Regions from separate parts of the Homo sapiens genome. Here region 1 is linked to region 2. The links are contacts of gene promoters, found by promoter capture Hi-C in human tissues and cell types (Jung and others, 2019). All regions are on one chromosome and are shown on one strand. Each heading gives the region's core, a stretch centred on a gene start or on the middle of the fragment in contact. The rest is flanking DNA. Distances are from core to core; before and after follow the strand shown. Region 1 has its middle 65 kb from the start of PNOC. Region 2 holds the start of PNOC (prepronociceptin).

Region 1 (7,554 bases), core at 504-3,003, 63 kb after region 2:
AATTTTTGTATTTTTGGTAGAGATGGGGTTTTGCCATGTTGCCCAGGCTGGCTTATGAACTCCTGGGCTCAAGAAGTCTTCCTGTCTTGGCCTCCCAAAGTGCTGGGATTACAGGTGTGAGCGACTGCGCCCGGCCCTCAGGTGATTCTGATGCAGGTGCTCTACCGACAGCTCTGAGAAACAGGTTTCCAGGGAACACCCAGAGAAGAAGCTGAAAGTGCAGACTAGACCAAGGGAATGATTTGTATGTTCGGTTGAGGAGTTATGATCTTATTTTAACTTAAAGACAACCTTAAACTCTCTTAAGGAAAGGTCAAGACATAGTCTCCCAAAATAAGAATAGAGGTGTTTCTGGAAGTTTAACTTTGAAAAGATTTCAAATAATGAAATTAGAGCAATTTTAGCTGGATCGCTTGAGCCCAGGAGTTTGAGACCAGCCTGGGCAGCATGGCGAGACTCCATCTATACAAAAAATACAAAAAAAAAAAAAAAAAAAAAAAAAAGCAGGGTGTGGTGGCACACACCTGTGGTCCCAGCTACTTGAGGAGCTGAGGCAGGAAGATTGCTTGAGCCCAGGCGTTCGAGGCTGCAATGAGCTATGATTGTGTCACTGCACTCCAGCCTGGGCGACAGAGCAAGACTCTGTCAAAGAGAACAAAATTAGAGTCATTTTAACAATTCAACTAGATGGGATGTGATGGGAGAATTTCATCTATAAATTTGGGACTGAGATTAAATTCCAAGGATCAGCTGGAGACAAGGAAGCTGGCCAGCTGGGCGTGTGGGTTGATGAACTTTCAGATGTTTAACTTCCATCTATCACAGAGCTGGACCAAGCGTCATTTTTCCCTCTTTGGTGGAATACTTAGCTGATAGCATCGGGAAACTGGTAAATGATTCTTTCAGGCTGAAGAAACAAGTATATTTGCCTTCATAGCACTTTGAAAGAAAGTATCCAGTGGACATAATGTCATAAATGATAATATGATTTCTGTTTTCTGAGTTACTCATGTGAAAATTTATTTTTATTGTAAAATGAGCACACATTTATTTACAAAATACAGGAAAACACGGAAGAGTAGAAGGAAAAACGTCCTTCCTATGCTTATTTTCCAAACAAAATCCATTACTTTTCTAGTTTTGAAATAGACGATTATTTGTCATTTGATGTTACTTTCAGTTTGGACTGACTTGGTATGCAAGTGACCCCAGCTTATCTCAGAAAAGGTGACTTTTTTTTTTTTTCCTGGCACAGACCTGAATGAATGACCTCATTTAAATTACACTCAACTTGACAAATATCATTGAATGCCTGCCACGTGTGTGGTGCTGAGCTAGAGCCTGTGGTGGTTACAAAGATTAATAAGACACAGCACTTGATGCAAGCAGGTTATAAACTAGCAAGAGAAGCAGACCTGTGTAGAACAAGATAGGAGGATAACCCCAAGGTTAGCAAAGACAGAAGCTCATTCCATGGGCTGTTGATATGGAGAGTGGGAGTGAGAAGCATGAAAAAAATGTTTTGAGATTGTGGGATTTGAGCTGGAACGGAAAGGGCTCCTTGGTGTTGGACCGTAGAATCTGCAGGGAAAAACAATGAAGAGGTAAAATACATGGAACTTGGCAAGGGTGGCTATTGTGGCTTGAGTATGTAATAAATGGAGAATTGATTCATCAGAATTCCAAGTAGCTGCTCTCCACAAAAGAAGAGGACTTGGAGAAGAAGAGGGGGCTTTACAAAGTAAGGAGACTCACTGCGACACAGATGACAGAGATGATAGCCGGTGATGGAAGAGGAAGTGCTGGTAGAGCAACGTGGCAGGGAGGTAGGGAATCGTGTGTGTGCATGCATGCATGTTTATGTGCATAGGCACATGTGTACGTGTGGATGCATGTATGTGTGTGGATGCATGTACATGAGTGTACGCGTGCGTGTGGATGCATGTACATGAGTGTACGTGCATGCATGTGGATGCATGTATGTGAGTGTACGTGCATGCATGTGTGTATGTGTGCATTTGTATATGTGTGAACATGTGTATATGCATGTCTGTGTGTGTGTGTGCAAGTGCATTTGTATACGCGTGATATGGTTTGGATATGGTTCCCGCAAATCTCATGTTGAAATGTAATCTCCAGTGTTGGAGGTGGGGCCTGGTGGGAGGTGATTGGATCATGGGGGTGGATTTCTCAGGAATGTCTTAGCACTATCTCCTTGGTGCCGCCTTTGTGATAGTGAGTTGTCATGAGATCTGGTTGTTTAAAAGTGTGTGGCATGCCCCCTGCCCAACCTCTTGCTCTTGGTCCGGTCATGTGAAGTGCCTGCTCCCGTTTCACCTTCCACCATGAGTAAAAGCTCTCTGAGGCCTCCCCAAAAGCTAAGCAGATGCCTGTACCATGCTTGCTGTACAACCTGCAGAACCACGAGCCAATTTAACCTCTTTTCTTTATAAATTACCCAGGCTCCGGTATTTCTGTATAGCAATGCAAGAACAGCCTAATACAATGTGTGTACATGTGCACATGTGTGTGCCTGCGTGCTCGTGCATGTGTGCATATGTGTGAAGACGGAGAAGGGGAGAGACTGACTTTCGGAAGTTGCTGTTACTGAAAAGTAATTGATAAAGAGAGAGTCCAAAGAGGATTCTAGAAAGCCTTTTGTGTGACACAACTTGTAAAATTCATAAGCCGCTCTTTCTTCCTTCAAGAATTTCCAGAAATTCCTTCAAGAATTTGCTGTTGGATTTTGCTTTTTTTTTTTTTTTTTGAGATGGAGTCTCACACTGTCACCAGGCTGGAGTGCAGTGGTGTGATCTCGGTTCACTGCAACCTCTGCCTCCTGGGTTCAAGCAATTCTGCCTCAGCCTCCTGAGTAGCTGGGATTACAGGTGCCCGCCACCATGCCCAACTAATTTTTTTGTATTTTTAGTAGAGACGGGGTTTCATGTTGGCCAGGATGGTCTCGATCTCTTGACCTCGTGATCTGCCTGCCTTGGCCTCCCAAAGTGCTGGGATTACAGGCGTGAGCCACCACGCCCGGCCGGATTTTGCTTTTTCTTGGATGAGTTGCAGAGTCAGATGGCCCAATTGTAGTCTGACTTCCTGTCTAATTTTTAATAGTGTGTCCTGCAAACTTTTCAATTAATTGAGATGTATTTTTATTTCCTTGTTCTATCACCCTGTATCAGTTATCTGTTGCTGGGTCCAAAGCACCCGGAACTCTAGCTAATCAGAACTATTTGATGGCTTATGACTCTATGGGTCAGGCATTTGGGCAGGGCTCAGTGGGTTCAGCTCTCTGCTCCAAGTGTTATCAGCAGGATCAGCTGGCTGGAGGACCTAATATGACCTCCCTCACATAGATGGAGTCTTGGTGCTGGCTGTCTGCTGCGGTGTCATGGGTCTCTTTCCTGTGGCATCTTCCTCCCCATGGTCTCTCATCCTTCAGGTCTCACTCTCCATGTGGCTCCGCCCTCCAGCAGGAGAGCCTGGACCTCTTTACGTGGTAGTTGGGTAAAAAAGGAAGAGGAAATGGAAGCTGCAGGCCTCTTAGTTCTGGAACACACACAATGCTGATTGTACCACATTCAGGAGACCACAGCGAGTATCAAGACCCGCCCAGATTAAAGAGGCAGAGAACTAGATACCTCCTCTTGGCAGGAGATGCTTGAGAATGTTGTGGCCATGATTTCTAATCCACCAAACATCCCAGTGACATTCCCGGGGTTCTTTTTGGTCCCTGGCCTTGCCCTTTCTGGGAAAGTCTCCCTGCCCTAAGACAGCCAGCCTCTCTCTGCTCCATGCCTGTGCCACAGCCAGCCTGAGTCCCCTGTGGATGGGACAGGGCACAGGGTTGGGGCCTTGCATTATCAATCTCCGTGGACCACCTCTCTCTATCTAGGGAAAAATTCAATTTCCCAGAGAATTTAGGTATCCACTGGGGCGTGGTTCAACACTAACTTCTTTCCAGTCTGAGACTGGAAATGAGAAAAGTGCTCCAAGTACAAGAAACACAGTAGGAGGAGAGATTTGAAAGCCAAAACTACAGAGGATCTCCAGGTCTCTAAACATATCAGCAGAAAATCATCCATGACTCTTCTTCTCCTTAAATGGGAAAGATCTTCACGTTTCCATTTGTAATTTGCCAGTATACATTTTTCTCATATATTTTACAAAGTTTATGTTTTCTGATTCTAGAAACAATCTGTTATTGTTTGAAAAGAACTTAGAAAATTAAGAAGCTTATATGGGAGAAGGGAATCATGCCTAAATCTTACTACCTTGAAATGGCCACTGTTACTATTGAAACTATCAGATGGAATATTAGATAATACGAAATGATATTTTTAACTACATATTGGCTATGACACATAATAAAACAAACACTTGTGAGTCTACCACCCAACTTAACAACTAGGACATTGCTACATATTATGTACTCCGTATTAGGGGTCCCCAGCCCTGGGCCACAGATGGGTATTGGTCTGTGGCCTGTTAGTTACCAGGCCACACAGCAAAAGGTGAGCAGCAAGTGTGTGAGCAAAGCTTCATCAGTATTTACAGCCACTCCCCATCGCTTGCATTATTGCCCAAGCTCTGCCTCCTGTCAGATCAGCGGTGGCGTTAGATTCTCAATAAGCACAAACCCTATTGTGAACTGTGCATGCAAGGGATCTAGCTTGCATACTCCTTCTGAGAATCTAACTAATGCCTGATGATCTGTCACTGTCTCTCATCACTCCCAGATGGGACCGTCTAGCTGCAGAAAAACAAGCTCAGGGCTCCCACTGATTCTATATTATGGTGAGTTGTATAATTATTTCATTATATATCACAATGTAATAAGAATAGAAATAAAATGCATAATAAATGTAATGTGCTTGAATCATCTGGAAACCATCACACTCCCCTGTCCATAGAAAAATCGTCTTTCTGCCGGGCATGGTGGCTCACGCCTGTAATCCCAGCACTTTGGGAGATGGAGCAGGCGGATCACCTGAGGTCAGGAGCTCGAGACCAGCCTGGCCAACATGGTGAAACCCTGCCTCTACTAAAAGTGCAAAACATTAGCCAGGCATGGTGGTGGGTGCCTGTAATCTCAGCTACTCAGGAGGCTGAGGCAGGAAAATCACTTGAACTCGGGAGGCAGAGGTTGCAGTGAGCCGAGATTGTGCCACTGCATTCCAGCCTTGGCAACAGGAGCAAAACTCCATCTCAAAAAGAAAAGAAAAGACGAGAAAAATTGTCTTCCATGAAACTGGTCACTAGTGCCAAAAAGCTTGGGGACCACTGCTCTATATTATATGTGTATAAACATATGTGATATGTATTAATAATATAGATGATACACAATATGTATGTATTATCTACAATGGATAAATAGATAATATATATTACTATGTTACCATATTCCTGTATTATATATACTATGTATATATTACATAATACATGGTACATATAGTAGATTGTCTTTTATGCATATACAGGTTTCGAGGTGGGACTAACCCAGGAAGATGCTACCAACGTAAGATGGTCAACTGTGGTGTCTCTCACTTGAGAGTCCAAGGGTATCAGCTGGCAGAAGCACACCCAATGGCATGGAAACTTCCAGCAACTTCTCACAGATTCCACCCCCTGGCCTCCCTGCAAGAGGCAGACGTCATTGTGAATTTTGTGTTTGTTACTCCCTATGTACATGTATCGTAAATACCATTTTGCTTGGTTGATATTTATATTTGCTATTTTAAGCTTCATAAATCACAGGCAGCAAGCCTGCCTGTCCATTCCAGAAGGAGACATGGTCTTCATGATACTGCACAGCATGCGCACCTGACTTGCTCTGGAAGGAGATACTCTGTCTACCACAGGTTTTCACCGTACAGACATCCTTGAAAAGATACCCCGGAAGTAAGGGCTCTTTCTCAAGATGTGCAGGACTTGAGCAGCTCATGGGTAAGTGTCTGTCAACAGGAATTCATCAGCGAGCTACACAGGCCCGACCTCTTCTGCTCTCTGCAAGCTGACATTTTAGTTGGGGAGACCGGACTTTGCATAAACAAACTCAACAGACTGTCTTTAGTGCACTGAAGGAGTTAACAAAAGCATCAATGTGAGACTTTTTCAGGAAAACATGACTAAGATGGGATGGTTGAGTGAGGCCTCTCTCATTGGAGAGGCAAGCAAAAGTTACCAGCTGGTGGAAGCAGGCCGCAGGCAGCGAGAACCGCCTGCACGGCTGTTCAGAGGCACAGGAAGCGTGGTGTGTGTGGGAGCTGAAAGGCTGGTGGGTCTGGAAAGCAGCGAGCTGGGGAAAAAAAGAGGCTTGAGGCCCTGAAGCCATGGTGAGCAGTCTGAGATTTATTGTGAATGGGTATAAAAGGGTTTTACACAGGGGAGTGATAACAATCTGATTTGCATTTTTGCTAGGCACACTTTGTTGCCCACACAGAAGGGATTGGAGGGGCTTTTGAAATCCTTGACAAGTCTCTGCTGTTTCTGATTGAATTTTTAATCTATTCATTCAACCTGACATCAGATGGGCTTTGACTTCCACATTCTCAGAATTAAAACTGACTTCTAAATGTTATCGCAGATTTGTCTGTGGCTTCTAATACAAGCACATCACTTTTACTTATCTCCCTCTGCTCTCTTCTTGGGCGCTTATGTGCACTCCTTCTGGTTGGTTCAGAGAGGTGCAAAGACCCCAGCCAATGTGGGGCTGCAGATTCCTTTAGGATGGAAAGACAAGGGAAGGAAGTGGCAGCTGAGCTATTTGGACTTCCTTATGGTATGCAGGCCTTCATGCAAGGGAATGGAAGATGGCATTCAGCTTGAAAGCTGTATTGAGCAGGTAACCTCTGGGGAAAACAGCCAACGATTTCATGCTTTGAAATCAAGCAGACTGAAGTCCATGTGCTGGATCCTACACATTTGCTTTGGGGGTTTGGTTTGGATCAGACCTCTAGGTTTTGTGGTGGATGAAGGTGAACAGGTCATGATGGGGCCACTCCCAAGCTGGGGATTTCTTGGAGGGCTCCCATTGAACTCAAAATATGTACAGATTTCCACACTTTGAGCCATAGCCCATCCATGTTTTGTTTTAATATCAGCATGCTTGTTTTGGTTTGTCTTTGTTTTTTTGTTTTTTTTGAGATGGAGTTCACTCTTGTTGCCTAGGCTGGAGTGCGATGGCACAATCTCGGCTCACTGCAACCTCCGTCTCCTGGGTTTAAGTGATTCTCCTGCCTCAGCCTCCTGAGTAGCTGTGAGTACAGGCACACACCATCACGCCTGGCTAATTTTGTATTTTTAGTAGAGATGAGGTTTCTCCATGTTGGTCAGGCTGGTCTCGAACTCCCAACCTTAGGTGATCCGCCTGCCTCTGCCTCCCAAAGTGTTGGGATTACAGGCGTGAGCCACCACACCCGGCCTATCAGCATGCTTTAAGCTGGGTGTCTGGAGTACAACTGCTCCTGTTGGCCTTTGGCTTTGTGTACATGGACTCGGAGTCGTGTATGCCCCGGCCTGAACTTCTGTCGGTTCTTGGCTTAACCT
Region 2 (7,705 bases), core at 3,042-5,541:
AAGGAAGAAGGGAAGAGGAAAAGGAGATGAAGGCTTTATGGGGAAGTAGCTTCCGGGCAGCATGAGGAAAGCCATAGAAAGAGTGTGGAGGGGGCAAAAGACACACGTTCAGGGCTACTGCAGGTGGGAAGGTAGCTCTCAACTCCCATCTTCCTGGTTCTGGGCCACACTCCCACATATACTGGCAACATAATTTAAATAGATTTTGGAAAGCTTTTATTTACTTTTAGCTGGGTGTATTGGCATGCAACTGCAATCCCAGCAACTTAGGACGCTTGAGCCCAGGAGTTTGAGACCAGCTTGGGGAACATAGTAAGACACCTATCTCTACAAAAAAAAAAAAAAAAAAAAATTTAGCTAGGTGTGGTGGTGCACATCTGCAGTCTTAGCTATTCAGAAGGTTGAGGCAGGAGGATAGCTTGGGCCCAGGAGGTTGAGTCTGCAGTGAGCTATGATTGTGCCACTGCACTCCAGTGTGGGTGACAGAGTGAGACCCTGTCTGTAAACAACAACAACAACAACAAAAGACCTGCCTGGGCAATATAGCAAGACCTCCAACTCAAAAAGAAAGAAAGAAAAGCTTTTATTTACTTTTATGTAATAAAATCATTCGGTGTTCTTTTCTAAAATATTGGAAAACACAGAGAAACAGCAATGAATCTAGGACAACAATCTTCAAACTTCTTCTTCTTTTTTTTTTTTTTTTTTGAGATGGAGTCTCGCTCTGTCACCCAGGCAGGAGTGCAGTGGTGTGATCTCGGCTCACCGCAACCTCCACCTCCCGAGTTCACGCCATTCTCCTGCCTCAGCCTCCCGAGTAGCTGGGACTACAGGCGCCCACCGCCACGCCCAGAGAATTTTTTTGTATTTTTAGTAGAGACGGGGTTTCACCGTGTTAGCCGGGATGGTCTTGATCTCCTGACCTTGTGATCTGCCCACCTCGGCCTCCCAAAGTGCTGGGATTACAGGCATGAGCCACTGCGCCCGGCCAAACTTCTTTAACTTTGTACCCCTAGCAGTCGATTTTGAGTACACATTCCTAATTTATTTATAAGTTACATACATTATAAAATCCACTAAAATGCAAATTAAGAAAGGTAAGATAAAAACAAAAGTCTCAGTCTCCTGAAGCCCATTGTGAGTTTGGAGGAAGCCAGCGCTCTGGCCACCCTGTGCTCCTGGCACTTGCTCTGTGTGGCTCCTATCAGGAACCCCACACACGTTCCTTGGCCGAATGAATGAAAGGATGAATGGGGAAGGAGGGTGGGGGGAAGATTGCAGGCCAGTGTGGAAAGAGGGGAGGTTGGATCTGAGCCACTGTGGGATGGCAGAGCTGGGGTGCATGGTGAGGCATGCTATCTACTCCACCTGCCAGGCTGGGCCCCCGGGCTGATGATTTTGTGCTTCTGCAATGTTGAAGCAGCTGCCAGTATTTTGAAAAAAAAAAAAAAAAAAAAAAAAAAAAAGAAAGAAAGAAAGAAAGAAACAAACAAAAAAAACCCCACAGGATCGTGGAAAATTGAGACTGAAACTAATTGTAGCCTATCCAGGGAGATGCCCAGAAAACTGGCTTGCCCCTGAAATCGATGTGCTCCAAATCTCATGACTAGTTTGTGATTAGATGGAAAACTTTATGTTCGACTGTGGGATTTAAATAAAGGCGTTTAGAAAATCCAGTTTGCTTCATGACTGCCCAGCAATTCAAGCCACTGCCAGCCACTCATTGTCAGGACGGCTCCCGTTTTCTGAGAAGGGCCCGTCCCTTTCCTAAGATATCTGAGGAGTAGCTCCACCCAGACTCGGAATGCAAGATATTTCAAAGCTTCCTTCGTGGGCTTTGGGAGCTGTGGAGCTGGATGGAGAAATGAGGGATCACTGAACCGTGTCAGTGCAAGTAGAGAACGCTCACCTGAAACTTCCCATTCCTACCAGTGTGCATATGTGCATGTGTGTATTAGCATGAAATAAGCACGTAGACAAGCTTAGCTCACTGCCTGGCACAGAGTGGGTTTCAAGAAATGTTAATTCCTTTGCCCTCATTTTATGTGTTTGACCTGGCTGCTGCCTCCCTCTTCAAAGCCCTTCACCCATCCAAATTCCACCTGCCTTCTCACTTGGTAGGATCCCAGGAATGCCTGGAGGAAATGCTCCTTCTCCCGAATTCTTCTAGCACTTGCTCTCTGGATTATGTGATTTAGGACTGAATTACACCCTGCCTTGCATGGTCCTCTAATTGTTTCTCATGTTTGTGTTACGTCTCTCCTCTACCCCCGACCCCACTATGAGTTCATAAGCACCCCTGACCGTAACGGGGAGATGAACTGGAGCCACAATGCCTTGGCTCAGTCCTGACCCTGCCATGTACTGAATAAATCATTTAATCTCTCAGTTTCAGTTTCTCCAACTGCAACACCGAGATAATGGCACCACCTCACAGGGCTGTTGCTGGGATAATAGGTGTGAAAGCGCCTAAATCGTTGTACAAATGTAAAGTGCTGTTATTATCACCTCTGCTGAATCTACTAGAGCCCCTGCAAGCCTCCCTGCCTGGTGGAGTGTAGACGGTAACTACCTGATTGATTGAATACAGGATAGCTTAGTGACAGCTCTTGTCATAGGCTCCAGGGAGCACAGGTTTGAGCCTAATCCTGCAATCACTCCCTTCACTGACAATGCAAACTCGCCTGCATTTTACAAATCCGTAAGTACTCTCAGCCTTCAGCTGATAAAGCAGGGGCTGCTGCCCTGTGCGCAACAAAACTGCGCCCTCAAAATGACCCGAGGCTGTACCACAGCGCCCTCGCCAGGCAGCACCAGGCGGCACATGCTTTTACAGAGGTGGTGATGGTTGGGGATGGGTTTTCCAGGGACCCTCCTCTGCAGAAGACTCAGCAAGCCCAAAGGAGCACGAATCCTTTTTGTTAAAGGTAACATAGCCTCAGTGTAAGCTTGTAGAATATTTCCCTGCCACACTTTACAAATGAGAAAAAAAGAGGCTGCATGCAGTAGCCACCCACAAGCAGCGAAAAAGAGCAGTATTTGCTTTGGGAGGTTTTGATAAGAAGCCAGGCAGTTACTTTTCCCATCTATGTTGAAAACTCTGGTTTGGGCTTGCTGGCGAATGCCGTGCAAAGCTCATCTTTTGTTAGTCTGCCGAACAATGTTATTGGTTATAATTGGGGCAATTATGGGCTGCTTGAGGAAGCTAAACACAGATGTTTAAGCGCAGGATGGGGGTATTCAAGTCCAAAGCAGCTTGCTTTAAATAGTCCATTTCCCGAATCATCCTGCCTTACTTGAAATTCCCCCAGAACTTGCCCATGTTCAGAGCGAGATTCGGGGAGGAGGGGCTGGGTAGTGAAGCCGGGGAAGCAAGACTCGAGGGAGAGAGATGCACAAAGAGAGGAGGAAGAAAGAAGGTGGCTGAGAGAGCCTCGAGAGTTGGGATGCGGTGACTATGAACGGAGTATTCTGCATGACCTGGGCAAAGACCTTTAGGTGGGGGAGATGGGCAGGGGGAGAGGGATGCCAAGCAAGAGAAGAGCCCTCTAAATGAATCGGGTTCTGGGAGACCAAGGTCACGCCCGTAGAAATGCTCTCTGGAATTCACACGCCGTGGCGCTCAGCAGTGTGTGTATACAGGTGAAGCACACTCCCCAGATCTGGCGCTTCCCCATTATTTGTAGCAATTTCTGCTGGGGGCAGAAGGGAGAAGGGCTCCCTCCGGATTAAAAACTCCCATCTGGATGGCATCAAGTTCAGTGATAGGCGGAGAAGCAGCCTGCGCACCGCATCTGAGAGGAAAGGAAGCCACTGAGAGGAAACCCTCATGAGGGGGCCAGGGTCTTCCTGGGGGCCGCCCCGTGGAAGGCAAACCCCCTCCCAAGTGCCTGCCCCTCCTCTGGCCTCACTCCTCCAGCAGCCTCCTCTCGACACAGAGCAACAACCACGTAGGGGCCACAGCTGGGGAAGCAAAACTTTTCCTCATTTCCAAGTTCCCCTCTTTCTGCTTCTGCGTCTGTCTGAGGTTAAAAAAGAGACTCAGCCCTCCCCCGTTCCCCACCATCCAAGCGCTACAAAGGAGATGAATGAAGAAACCATCTCGCAAGAGGCCAGCAGCATCCACACTGGACAAAGGAGAGAGGCCGAGGAGCCAGCCCCTGGTGGCCCTGCCCTCCCGGAGCTCCACGCAGTTAGTCCAGTTAGTCGCGGTCGGGCTGGGGGCCCCGTGCAGTTGCCTACCTGAGAGCTGTCAGTCCCCGGCTCCCTCCGATGGATGCGAGGCTCGGTTCCGCTTTCTCAGCCACACCAGCATATATATCCTCTCCCCCACGCACAGCCCTCCCCTTCCCTGCCCACCTCCATGACACATACACACACTGACCCCCTTCAGCAACCAAACAGCAGAACCTGCAAGCCTTCCTGGCTGTTCCCTTCCCCCGGCTCTGCCATCAGACCTGTGACATCCCCACCTCCCCATCAATCCATTCTCAAGCCTGCTTCACCTGGACTCTGTTCAGCCAGGATCCCACAGCTGCCTTCCCTGTGCTTCCAGAGGCTCTGTGAGGACTGATGGGGAGCTCTGGCAAGTCAGAAAAAAAGCCTCCTGGTGACAGTGACGAGGCAGACCCCAAATCCTGGAGTCTCCTTGAGCAACCTTTTTGCCTGAGGAGTGAAGAATAGGAGGCAGGCAGAAGGGAGGGGAGCTCATGCCAAGCTCCTACCGACTCGGAGGAGCCCAGGGCTGAGCTAAGCCAAGCCCTGACCTAATGTCATTGCCCCTAACTAGGCCACTCAAGAGGTGGCTGCACCTGCCCTGGGCCAGGTCAGGAGGCATTTCCACAGGTGCCCACAGCATGGTGCAATGGAGAATGCTGAGACTCGAGGCTCAGATGGAAGTGTCTGAAATTCGGCTGTACAGTCAGAGCAAGGCACATCTCTTTGTGAACCTCAAGTCCTCCTTCCGGAAAATGAGTCTAATACTGCCCAGGATGGTTGTGAGTAGAAAAAGGAGATTCTGTTTGAATCTACAACACACGAGGCCCTTAATGAATGTGCTGCATCCTCCCTCTCCTCTCAGCCCGCTTTTCACACTGATTAGTACCACCTGGATGTAGAAATCCCATATCAGTGTCTGGTGTCACAACAGAGAGCTTTTAAAGCTTCTGCAACTTAGGGCATCACTACCGAGGGCCCTGGAGGCTCAGAAGCTCTGGAAGCTTCCCTGTCCCTTACTGCAGAGCCTCTTTGTCTTCTACAGCCGCCGGGGGTTGTGGGCTGCAGGAAAGGAGCTCACAGGCTGAAGGCACAGGCTTGAGGGTTTAGCATCCTTGTGGACCCCACGTTTCCTTACCTTAGGTGAATTTCACCATGACCCTGTCCTTGGTTTTCCTAAGAGGGTCTAAAATATTCCAGAATCCCAGGGTTTGAACCTATGTCATCCAAGGAGCTCAAGCACTCATTCATGTGGTTAAGTCCAGCTCTCTGGTCTACCCAGGACTGGGTGGAGAAGGATTGAGGGAAGCATCTGCCCTGACTGCAAATGGTATAGGGTTTCTTTTTGGGGTAATGGAAATGTTCTGGATTTAGACTGAGGTGATGGTTGCACAACATAGCAAGAATACTAAAACCCACCAAATTGTATGCTTTAAAATGGTGCATTTTATGTTATGGGAATTACATCTCCATAAAAAGAAAATAGGAAAAAGACAGCAAACATCTGCTCAGGTTAAGAGCAACAGGTTCTGAGAATAAAATTTCCCTTCCGTCTGTGTTCACAGCAAAAGGGCTCAGGAGACCAGCATACTCATGATTCTTCACTTAGATCTCTGTTGCCCAAACCTTACACTGCAGGTCGCAGCTACCATTTTGGACTCTTTGGGAAACCAGCATGTTCACTGACTGACACGGGGTCACTTTTGCATCCTGATGTACTTCAGTGTCTCAGGCCTGGAACCTGATTTCATACATGATGTGGCAGATATTGCAGGCTGCCTACCCAATCCCCATTTCCCTGTTCTTCCTTACTAAACGGTACCCTTGATTTTATTCCAGGCATCAATGCACTTAGCTAAAAGACTACATTTCCCATTGACCAAGGGTTGCCAATGAGCATTAAGCTGCAGGTCCTTGGGTGGGGTTTCCAGGAAAGCTTTTTTTTTTTTTTTTTTAGACGGAGTCTTGCTCTGTCGCCCAGGCTGGAGTGCAGTGGCGCCAACTCAGCTCACTGCAAGCTCTGCCTCCCAGGTTCATGCCATTCTCCTGCCTCAGCCTCCTGAGTAGCTGGGACTACAGGCACCTGCCACCATGCCTGGCTAATTTTTTTTTTGTATTTTTTTTTAGTAGAGACGGGGTTTCACCATGTTAGCCAGGATGGTCTTGATCTCCTGACCTTGTGATCTGCCCACTTCGGCCTCCCAAAGTGCTGGGATTACAGGTGTGAGCTACTGAGCCTGGCTGGGAAAGCTCTTTTAAAGGGGGTCAACTCACTGAAGGCCTCTCTCTCTTCTTTGTCCTCCCTCCATCCTGCCTGGGACACAAATGTGATGGCTGGAGCTCTAGCAGCTATCTTGGATTATGAGATAAGACAACTTTGAGGATGGAAGCCATGAGTAAATATGATGGAACATAAAGATGGAAGGATTTTGGGTCCCCCATGACTAATGGAATGGCCATATCAGTCTTGGACTCCAAACTTCAACCTTTTTTTAAAAACAAAAAAAAAACAAAAAAAACCCCAAACATTTATTTCAAATGTCAGTCAGGGTTCAGTTACCCATTGCTGCATAACAAGCCACACCAAGGCCAGAGGCTTGAAACAACAGACCACGTATTTGACTCATGATTCTACAGATTGGGAATTTTGGCTAGTCTCAGCAGGGCAGTTCTTCTGGTCTCAGCCTGACTCTCTTCTGCACCTGCAGTTGGACTCAGAAAGTTGGCTGGGTGTCAGCTGGGGACCTTGGTTCTCTTGCACATGTCTTATCCTTCATGGGTCTCTCACATCCCTCCAGCATATTAACCTGGCATAGTCTCATGGCAAGCCTGAAGTGAAAGCACAAGCAAATACAATCAAGCAAGGGAACAACCGCAAGCACACAGAACCTCTTGAGACCTAAGCATGGAGCTGGCAGTCCATTGCTTTTGCTACATTTGTTGGCTAAGGCCAGTTGCAAGACTGTCCAGAGCCAGGCTGGGTGGAGACTACAAAGTCCCAGGATAATAGAGGGTGGCTATGCAGAAGCCATTCATTGGAGGCATTTGAAACTTTTACTTCCTATGATTTAAGCCATTTAGTTGGATTTTCTATTACATCCAGTGGAAAATTACCTTAAACCAACACACCTGCCTTTGAGCACCTCGTCATTCCCAGGATGTTCAGGCAGCTAAATGCTTTTCTTCCCTTGCAGTTGAGGAAGAGAAAGAGCAAGAGTGAAAAGTCACTTAGCTTCTCTGGACTTTTCTTTCCTCATTTACCAGACAGAAGAGTTGAACCCAACACCTGGATATTCTTGGTGGGTTGAATGAAGCTGCATGTGGTGGCAGGCTGTCTCCAGTGATGGATGGGGAAGGGCAGGATGAACCCAGGAGGGAGTTTAAAACCACTGTTGGGTGGGGGAGTAGAAGAATCTTGCCCCTCAGAAAAGCACAAGTAGACTAGAAATGGTGCAGACTGTGTGGCGTTTGTGATGGCTTCAGGGCTTCC

The links. The method cuts DNA at HindIII sites, captures the fragments that hold promoters and counts their contacts. A contact is called where the count stands out against the background at its distance.
Region 1: a contact is called between a fragment that was not itself captured here and the fragment with the promoter of PNOC in region 2, in 1 of the 25 tissues and cell types used here (pancreas).

What each region holds. Positions count from the first base shown.
Region 1 is chr8:28,248,652-28,256,205 of GRCh38, reverse strand. No RefSeq gene overlaps it. Among named protein-coding and RNA genes, the nearest start is that of PNOC, 65 kb to the left of the region's middle. The HindIII fragment of the contact is 7,520 bases long and covers 1-5,513 here.
Region 2 is chr8:28,313,854-28,321,558 of GRCh38, reverse strand. PNOC (prepronociceptin) reads right to left here and starts at 4,291. Exons shown (of 4, transcript NM_006228.5): 1 at 4,243-4,291. RefSeq lists enhancers at 2,274-2,785, 2,786-3,298. The HindIII fragment of the contact is 3,220 bases long and covers 2,466-5,685 here.